3 separate regions of the Homo sapiens genome follow, and regions 1 and 3 are each linked to region 2. The links are contacts of gene promoters, found by promoter capture Hi-C in blood cells and fetal thymus (Javierre and others, 2016). All regions are on one chromosome and are shown on one strand. Each heading gives the region's core, a stretch centred on a gene start or on the middle of the fragment in contact. The rest is flanking DNA. Distances are from core to core; before and after follow the strand shown. Region 1 holds the start of KLK2 (kallikrein related peptidase 2). Region 2 holds the start of C19orf81 (chromosome 19 open reading frame 81). Region 3 holds the start of KLK1 (kallikrein 1).

Region 1 (2,700 bases), core at 181-2,680, 220 kb before region 2:
TGGGCAGCTGTGAGCACCCACTGGGGGTGCACCAGGACACCCCCACAGTGTGCCCATCCATGACTGTACACAGCCACCTGCCAGGGTTGGGAATGCTTCTCACACTCCCAGCCTCCCACAATCCGAGACTGGATGAGGGGCACGGCACCTGCGGAGGGGGTGCTGGGTCAGGGGGATCAGACCCAAAAGAATTGGATAGGGGAGGGAGCTGAGCTGTGGGTTTGAAGAGACATGGGGGCAGAGGACCAGGACTGGGAGTCCAGGACACAAGCAAGGGGTCCTGGGAGGGCTGGCAATTCTGTAGCTATTCCCTGCGTTAGCGGGTTGGTGGCTGGACCAGGTCGGGAGGCTTCATGCTCTGAGAACGGAGCTGACCCCAGAGATCAGAGTAGGGGACATGGGAAACATCTGAAGCAGGCATCGGGTTGGGGGTTGGGTCATTTGGAGTGATTTGGGGTCTTACACTGGGAGAAGGGACACTGTGGTGGCAGCTGTGGGTTCTAAGAGAATAAGAGGTTCCAGAAACCAAGGATAAGTGCCCAGTGGAGAGGTTTAGTTGCTGGGAGAGGAAGGTTTTGGATGGTTTACCATGTCCAAGGTTAAGCAAACAGTTCTGCCTGAGTTGTTTCTTGCTTTGTTTTGTTTTGTTTTGTTTTTGAGGTTTTGAAAAGGGTGCGGATTTAGGGAATCAGAGAACTGGCCGTTGTGGTTGGGGGTGCTCGTGTTTTTCCCATGGAAAAAGCTAGCCATTGAATGACGGGTCTGGGGCAAAGAGTCAGGGAAGGAGGAGTTCTGAAAGTCCCAGTGCCAGACTCAGGGTGGGAGGCAGCATTTGTTGTCTCAGGCCAGATAGCCTCGGGGGGAAGAAGGAAGTGTCTGGTGGAATCTGGGTTTCCTGGGACAGGGTTGGGGAGCCAGGTGTCAAGGTCCAGGGGACAGGGTTGAATGCTCACAGCTGAATAGGAAAAGTCAGTAGACTGTGGTAGGACTGAGGGGCTCAGGAGGCAGCCCAGTGATAGGGTCCAAGGAACCAGTGGCATGGAGAGAGGTCCTTGAAAGGTTTTGAACCCCATAAAGAGAAACACAGAGATGCCCAGGAACTTGCTCTTTAGTAAAGCAGCTGGGAGCAGGGATTTGGCTGGGCAATGGAGAGAAAGGTCTGAGGTAAGTGGGAGGGAGCGGGGACCTAGTGTGGGCATGAGGACTATTGCAATGTGGAAGAGTCAGGGGCACATTGTCTGGGCTGAACTGTGGGCTGAAGGGACGAGGCTGGGGCACTGGGTGGGAGGAAAAGGGCTTCAGCATAAGAGTCAGAACCCGCCCCCCTTCCTTTATCCCCCCAATCTCACCAGTGCACCCCACAGACAAGGCGATGGAGAGAACCAGGTCCCACATGCTGACACAGGTGTCCACGGCCAGGTGGTGAGTTTGGGGCTGGGGGGCCTCCCTGAGGAGCCCTATAAAGCCTTCATTCTCCAGGACCCCGCCCTTGCCCTGTTGGCACCTAGATGCTGACCAAGGCCCTCCCCATGCTGCTGGAGGCTGGACAACCCCCTCCCACACCCAGAGCTGTGGAAGGGGAGGGAGAGCCAGCACTTGCTGTTCCACACATACTAGATCAGTCTGGAGGCATTCCCACGGTGTGAGGTCAGATTGGGCAGGGCCTATGGATCATGGAGATGTGATCTAGGGAACAAAGCCAGAGAAGGCAGGCTCAGGATGAACAGCAACAGGGGTTGGGATGATCACTGATTCTTTTTTAAAAAAATTCTGAGACAGTCTCACTCTGTTTCCCAGGCTGGAGTGCAGCGGCGTGATCGCAGCTCCCTGTAGCCTTGAACTCCCAGACTCAACCGATTCTCCTGTCTCAGCCTCCAGGATAGCTGAGACCACAAGCATGCACCACCACATCCAGCTAATTTTTAATTTTTTTGTAGAGAGAGGGTCTGGCTATGTTGCCTAGGCTGGTCTCCAACTCCTGGGCTCAAGCCATCCTCCCACTTCGGTCTCCCAAAGTGATGAGATTACAGGCGTGAGCCACCACGGCCAGCCCCAATCATTGATTTTCAATACAAAGTCTCATGTGCCTAAGTCCCAAGTACTTCCTTTGCACCCCAAACCTAATATGCCCTGAAATATCAGAATGATCGGATTGTGAGACTTCCTGGTCCCTATACCCGTCTGAGCCCAGAAGCTGGACCTCCAACTTACCATGTTCCTGAAATAGAAGCGTTGGCATTCAGTACTCTCTGATTCTTGCACTTCCACACTCAGAAAATGGTTCCCCACATACATTTCTCCCTCATCATAAAACCTTGTGATACCACATATTGTCCAATCCAGAAATATGACTCTCCCAGACCAAGTTCCCTATTATTTCAAAATCCAATGTCCACTAAACAATATGGGGTTCCGGTGGCTCCTCACTCCTCATTCTCCATGCCTGTACAACGTACAGGTACAGCGGGGATTCCTGTTGACCTGCCCTCCTAGGTCAGAATTGTCCTCATGCAAAATCCAATGCCTCCTTCTCACTGAAATGTCTAGCTATCAGGAGCCAGGTTTATACACTCCAAGATTAAGCTGCAAGCCAGGCACGGTGAGTGGCTCATGCCAGCAATCCCAGTGCTTTGGGAGTCCAAGGCTGAAGAATCACTTGAAGTCAGAAGTTCAAGATCAGCCAGGGCAACAAAGTGAGAC
Region 2 (2,700 bases), core at 18-2,517:
TTTGGGTGTTTTTGTTTGTTTGTTTGTTTGTTTTGTTTTTTGAGACAGAGTCTCCCTCCATCACCCAGGCTGGAGTGCAGTGGCACAATCTTGGCTCGCTGCAGCCTCTGCCTCCTGGGTTCAAGCGATTCTCCTGCCTCAGCCTCCCTAGTAACTGGGATTACAGGCACCCGGCACCACACCTGGCTAATTTTTGTATTTTTAGAGATGGGGTTTCACCATGTTGGCCAGGCTGGCTGGCCTTGAACTCCTGACCTCAGGTGATCCACTCACCTCGGCCTCCAAAGTGCTGGGATTATAGGCGTGAGCCACCACACCCAGTCCTGAGTTTGGTTTTCTATTACCTGCAGTTACATGCATCCTCACTGAGATACTACTCCATAAATGTTGAATGAGTGTAACTGCATGAGCTGTGCTACAGCACAGAGTGCTAGCAGGAAGTGCTGGGCTAGGAGCCTGAAGTTGTCAGCAGGGGTCAGACCACACAGGGCCTCAAAAGCCAGGCTGGAGCTTTGGGTCTCTGTCCTAGAGGTGACAGGAAGCTAGGAAGTGTTATGAGCAAGGGACAGCCAGGATCACTGCAGGAAGTCAGAGAGACCTCTCTGGAGCCATGGAGGGATAGGTAGGAGGAGAGAAACTGGGGACCAGGGAGGAGGTGAGGAGAGGGTCCACATGGAAGAGGATGAGACCTGGGACAGGGCTGCGGGGACAGAGAGGAAGGAATGGGGAAGGGAGAGTCAGAGGGCAGGAAGATAGGGCCTGATGGGCTGTGGGAGGGAATTGTGGGAGGTGGAAGGATGGCACCAGTGACTGGGTTGGCGGTGGGGCCATTTGAAAATGGAAACCAGGAAGGAGGAGAGCAGCTTTGGGGGAAGATGCTGAGCTCAGGGTGGGAGACAAGACAGTGAGGTTACCTAGGAGAAGAATGGCCTCAGAGGTGTTGCTTAGGCCCCAGAGGCTCATGGGAAATGTAGTTCTGAGTCCAGGGCATTGGCCAAGGAACTGCAGAGGCTCATGGGAAATGTAGTTTGAGGTCCAAGGGGGCCGCTCTCCAGGAATCTGGTGAATCCAGGAATGCTAGGGATGGCTTTCACTTTGGAGTGCCAGTGACTCGCTTAAGGCCACACTGTGAGCCCGGGCTACTACGCACTGCCTGGATGGAGGAAGTCCACCCCTTCCCCCAAAGACACAGCTCAGTACCTGCCTTCCTGTGCATGGTGGGGCTGCCCATGGCAGGGAAGCACACGGGCTCCACCTCTGGCTGCATCCTGGGAAGGTGGGTGAGGGATGTCTCAGGAAGGTGGCAAGAGAGGCTCTGCCTGGGCCACCCACCCCAGCTCCTTCTCCCCACCGCTGCCTCCTCTACCTCCTCTTTGAAGCCCCGGGGTAGAATTACAGAGGAACTGGAAGGCTGAGACCATGTGGAGATCTGGGTTCCCCTGACCTCAGGGACTCCCTGTGTGCCCCAATCCCTTCTTTCCCATTTCCCTGTTTTTCCTCCTATCTCTCTCTGTCTCCTAGAGTCCCTTTCCCCACCCCTCTCTCTCCACCTCCCTTCCTCATTCTCTCCCCATCTCTCTGCCCCCCTGCCTCCTCCCCTCTGTCCCCACGTCTCCACCACTCTTTTGCTTGATTTCTCTGCCCTCCTCCTCCCTCCTTCTCTCCTGGGCTCCATCTCTTCAGTCTCCATCAGTTTCCCCAGCATCTCCCCAGGCCCCCGTCCCTCCTTGTCTTCATCGTTTTCTGCCTCTCCCTAACCCCGTCACCCTCTCTCTGTCTTCCCACCTCTCACCAGTCTCCTTGCCCCATCTCTATCCTCTCCTAGCTGCCTCCACTGCCCCCTTGAGGCCCCCTCCCCTCTGTCATCCCCTTTCTGTTCCCACTTGCCCTCTGCTCATCCCTGCCCCAGCCAGGAACTGGTTAGAAACAGGCGAGATTCCAACGAAAGTGGGTTCTCTAGTGGGGAGGGGATGGTGGGCAGGGGGCCTGGTTGCCATGGTGCCTCCAGAGGGAGGGGGAGGGGTGGGGGCCTGGATTCCTGGGTCTGAGGGAGGAGGGCCTGGGGTCTGGACTCCTGGGTCTGAGGGAGGAGAGGATGGGGGCCTGGACTTCTGGGTCTGGGGTCTCACGGGGCCTCTCGTGCTAGAGAGAAGGGGTCTAGCCGTGTAGGTGCCTGTTCAGCATCCCTTTCTCTGGGTCTGCAGAGCTCTCTGCAGGAATTGTGGGAGAGGAAGCTGGACCTTCGCTTATTTGTTTTGTCTGTCCTTGCAGTCTTTGTCTCTGTTACTTGTATCTCTTTCTCTTCCTCTTTCTCCACATCCAGATGGTCTCTGGACTGTCTGTTGTTCCTGCTTACTAAGTATTCGTTCTAGGTGGTGGCACCTTGATTTCCTCAGTGATTTGTTCAGTGGCGAGCTTAAGAATCAATCTAGGCTACAAAGTCAACCTTTGGACTTTTGCTGGACCTGTTAGAAAACAGGGTTTTTCCCCTGTGGTTTTGGGGCTGGTCAGAGCCAGGGTTGGAGCTCTCGGTGCTACCACATCACCATGCAGGGAGATAACTTGCCTGAGAGCAAAGACAACACGAGGGAAGCATAGCCCAAAGATACAGACAGTTGGATTCCTGGAGATGATTGGAACACCTGGATCCAGCAATGCCTGAAGCCCTCATCCAATCAATAAACTTCCTTTTATGCTTAG
Region 3 (2,700 bases), core at 19-2,518, 170 kb before region 2:
GCGTGGTGGCACACGACTGTAATCCTAGCTACTTGGGAGGGTGATGTGGGAGGATCGCTTGAACTTAGGAGGCAGGAGTTGCAGTGAGCCGAGATCGCGCCACTGCACTCCAGCCTGGTGACAGAGCAAGACTCCATCTCAGAAAAAAAAAAAAAAAAAAAAAGATTTAGTTCTGGGCTTCCTGGTAGCCATGGCAAAAAGGCAAATACTGTCCTTTCCTTAGCCAGGTCCCTGATATACAGCAGAGGCTGGAACTCTGAGCTGCTTTGATTTTACCAAAAAGCCAAGACAACCTGTTGGAAGCCTATGGGTTTACCATTGAGGCTGCAGGAATCTAGTTCCTAATTATCTTCAGAGACCACAAAATGTGATGTTCAAGGTCGCTGAATGTTGAAGTACATGAACCTGGCTCGTGAGACCTAAATATTGTACTGGTGGTGGGGGGGAAGGGTCATTGGAATCTGTGGTTAGCCTGATCTTGACCTGGGAGGGAAGGTTGTCCAGATCTCTGGGACTTTGGAGGACAGGACGTTGAGCACCCATAACTGGGAGCAAGAAGTGGGAGGCTCATTGAGACCCCAGCATTGTTTGGGAGGGACACTGGATTTTGTAATGCTAAAGAACTTACCCTGGGAGACCCCTGAAACTTCACATTCCTGGATCTGGAGGCACTAGGAATGTGGTGATGTGTACCCCAAAATTTTATTATGAAAGGAACAGTAGCTTTGGGGACCTAGGTCCTGGGTCTGGGAGTGCAAGAACCAGGGCATTCTGAAGGCCAAGGCTTATATTTCAGGGGGAACTGGCAGCTGAGATGCTAGTATCTTGGCTCCGAGTGGTGCAGGGAATCAGAGCCCTAACTGCTGGTGTTTGAGGGCACCAGGTCTGGGGGTGCAGGGCCTTAATTGAGACTGAGGTATATGGGGCTTTGTACCAGGGGTCACTGATTCCTCCGTCTTCCTGTTTCTGCTTCCCCTCAGTCCCCCCTTGCCTCACTGGCTGCTCCCCAGAGCAAAGCCCCAGAGCCACAGGCCCTGCCCCACCTGGCTTCAACCCCAGGAATGCGTCCAGCGTGATCCAGGGCCTGCAGAACAGGTGCTGGTTCTCCCTCCCCGTCTACAGCTCTGGGGATCGGAGGGGGGGGGGGCAATTGTCCAGCCCCCAGGCAACAGGGGAAGGGCCTTGGCCAACATCTGGGTGCCAGCAGGGCAGGGGTGGGGCTCTGAGGGGATAAGGGCTTTTAAAAGCCTCCCCAGGGAGGTTCCCCAGTTCCTCCACCTGCTGGCCCCTGGACACCTCTGTCACCATGTGGTTCCTGGTTCTGTGCCTCGCCCTGTCCCTGGGGGGGACTGGTGAGACAGTGGGGGGATGTGGGAGGGGGAACGGGCCCTGATTCTCTTGCTGGCCTCACATCCCCCCCCGATAAGACCTTCCCCTCCAACACCCCACCCTCATCCCTCTGGCCCACAGTCTATCCTAGTCCGGGGTGCCCCGGCTCTTATCTATCTTGCGCGGCCCCACCCTAAACTTCCACCCCCGCTCCTCCATGTTGTCATAGTGCTCACTCCCACACCAGATTCCTGCTCCTCCCAGGAAGCCTCAGTACTTTCTCCTCTTCCCTAGCCAACGCCCTGTCCCACCGCTTTACCAAAGGGGCAGATTCTGGGCCATCTCTGTCTCTCTCTGGAGGACCCCAACCCTCCCATGGGCTTCCCCCACCCCACAGGACTCTGATCATCCCCTCCTGCCCCCTAGTTCCCTGCGGCCACCTATTTGGCTCCTGAGTCTACAAATCCCACCACACTCCAGTGACTTTTTCCATCCAGCTGTCCGCTCTCAACTGTGTCCTCCAGACCCTGACATCTGGTCTCCCCAGTCCTTCCAGGGTCCCCCAAATTTCACCAGAAAACCCTGCTTCCCAAACTGGCATGTGGGATCCCCCATCTGGTATGGGGGGGGGTCTGCAAATGTCCCTTCCCACCCAGCACCCCCAGCTCTCCCAGGAAAAACACCACACCCTCCCACCACATGCTCCTTTCCTTGGGGAAGTTCCATCCCGCCCCAGGCCCCAGCCCTTCTCTGCCTGAATTGTTCCTACACAGCTCTGGTTTTCTGGAACCCCACCCCAAGGATCCTGAATGCCTTCTCAGCCAGCGCTTCTGCCCTGGCCTCCCCCAAGTCAGTATGTGATTCTACAACCTCACGTCAAGTGGGTCCTGCATTGCATTCCCACAGCTGCTTGGCGCCTGTTCTCACCACTTCTCCAATCCTCTTCCTAGGATTGCCTCCAAGAGGACCCCATATCCTTCCAGTACCCTCAGACCATGAACCCCATCCCCATGAGAAACGAAGATCCCATCCTTCACCCTGTCCGAGAAGGACTGCCACTCACGCCTCCCTCCTCCTGAGCCCCGTCCCAGTCCTGACCGCAACTGTGTTCTCAGGGCCCCAACCTCCCCTCAGATTGCCATTCCTGGTTCACAGGAAGGACCCCAAAACCTCTCGGAAGCCCACCTCTAGCCTTAACCATAGCCCTTTCTTTTACCCTTTAACCAGGAAGCCCTGAAATCTAACTGTCCCAGCCAAGCTGGCCCCTTCCAACCCCAATGTAGGGACCCCAAGTCACCCCCAAACTCTTCAGTCCAGATGCTCTTCTTTACCTCTCAGACCTGGTTCCCTAAAGCTGCATCCTTTCCTGAA

Evidence for each region. Contacts are between HindIII fragments. The CHiCAGO score rates a contact against its expected background, and 5 or more counts as called.
Region 1: a contact is called between the fragment with the promoter of KLK2 here and the fragment with the promoter of C19orf81 in region 2, in 16 of 17 cell types (activated CD4 T cells, neutrophils, erythroblasts and 13 more). The highest score is 15.7, in activated CD4 T cells.
Region 3: a contact is called between the fragment with the promoter of KLK1 here and the fragment with the promoter of C19orf81 in region 2, in 11 of 17 cell types (neutrophils, erythroblasts, activated CD4 T cells and 8 more). The highest score is 10.6, in neutrophils.

What each region holds. Positions count from the first base shown.
Region 1 is chr19:50,872,169-50,874,868 of GRCh38, reverse strand. It overlaps KLK2 (kallikrein related peptidase 2), which reads right to left and starts at 1,430. Exons shown (of 5, transcript NM_005551.5): 1 at 1,350-1,430; 2 at 1-148. The coding sequence starts at 1,395. RefSeq lists a cis regulatory region at 1,592-1,606, an enhancer at 1,592-1,606 and promoters at 1,405-1,758, 1,405-2,030, 1,405-2,700. The HindIII fragment of the contact is 10,018 bases long and covers 1-2,700 here.
Region 2 is chr19:50,648,012-50,650,711 of GRCh38, reverse strand. C19orf81 (chromosome 19 open reading frame 81) reads right to left here and starts at 1,267. Exons shown (of 5, transcript NM_001195076.2): 1 at 1,201-1,267. The coding sequence starts at 1,267. It also overlaps a transcript of SYT3 not described here. RefSeq lists an enhancer at 2,334-2,383. The HindIII fragment of the contact is 10,880 bases long and covers 1-2,700 here.
Region 3 is chr19:50,822,355-50,825,054 of GRCh38, reverse strand. KLK1 (kallikrein 1) reads left to right here and starts at 1,268. Exons shown (of 5, transcript NM_002257.4): 1 at 1,268-1,352. The coding sequence starts at 1,307. The HindIII fragment of the contact is 16,614 bases long and covers 1-2,700 here.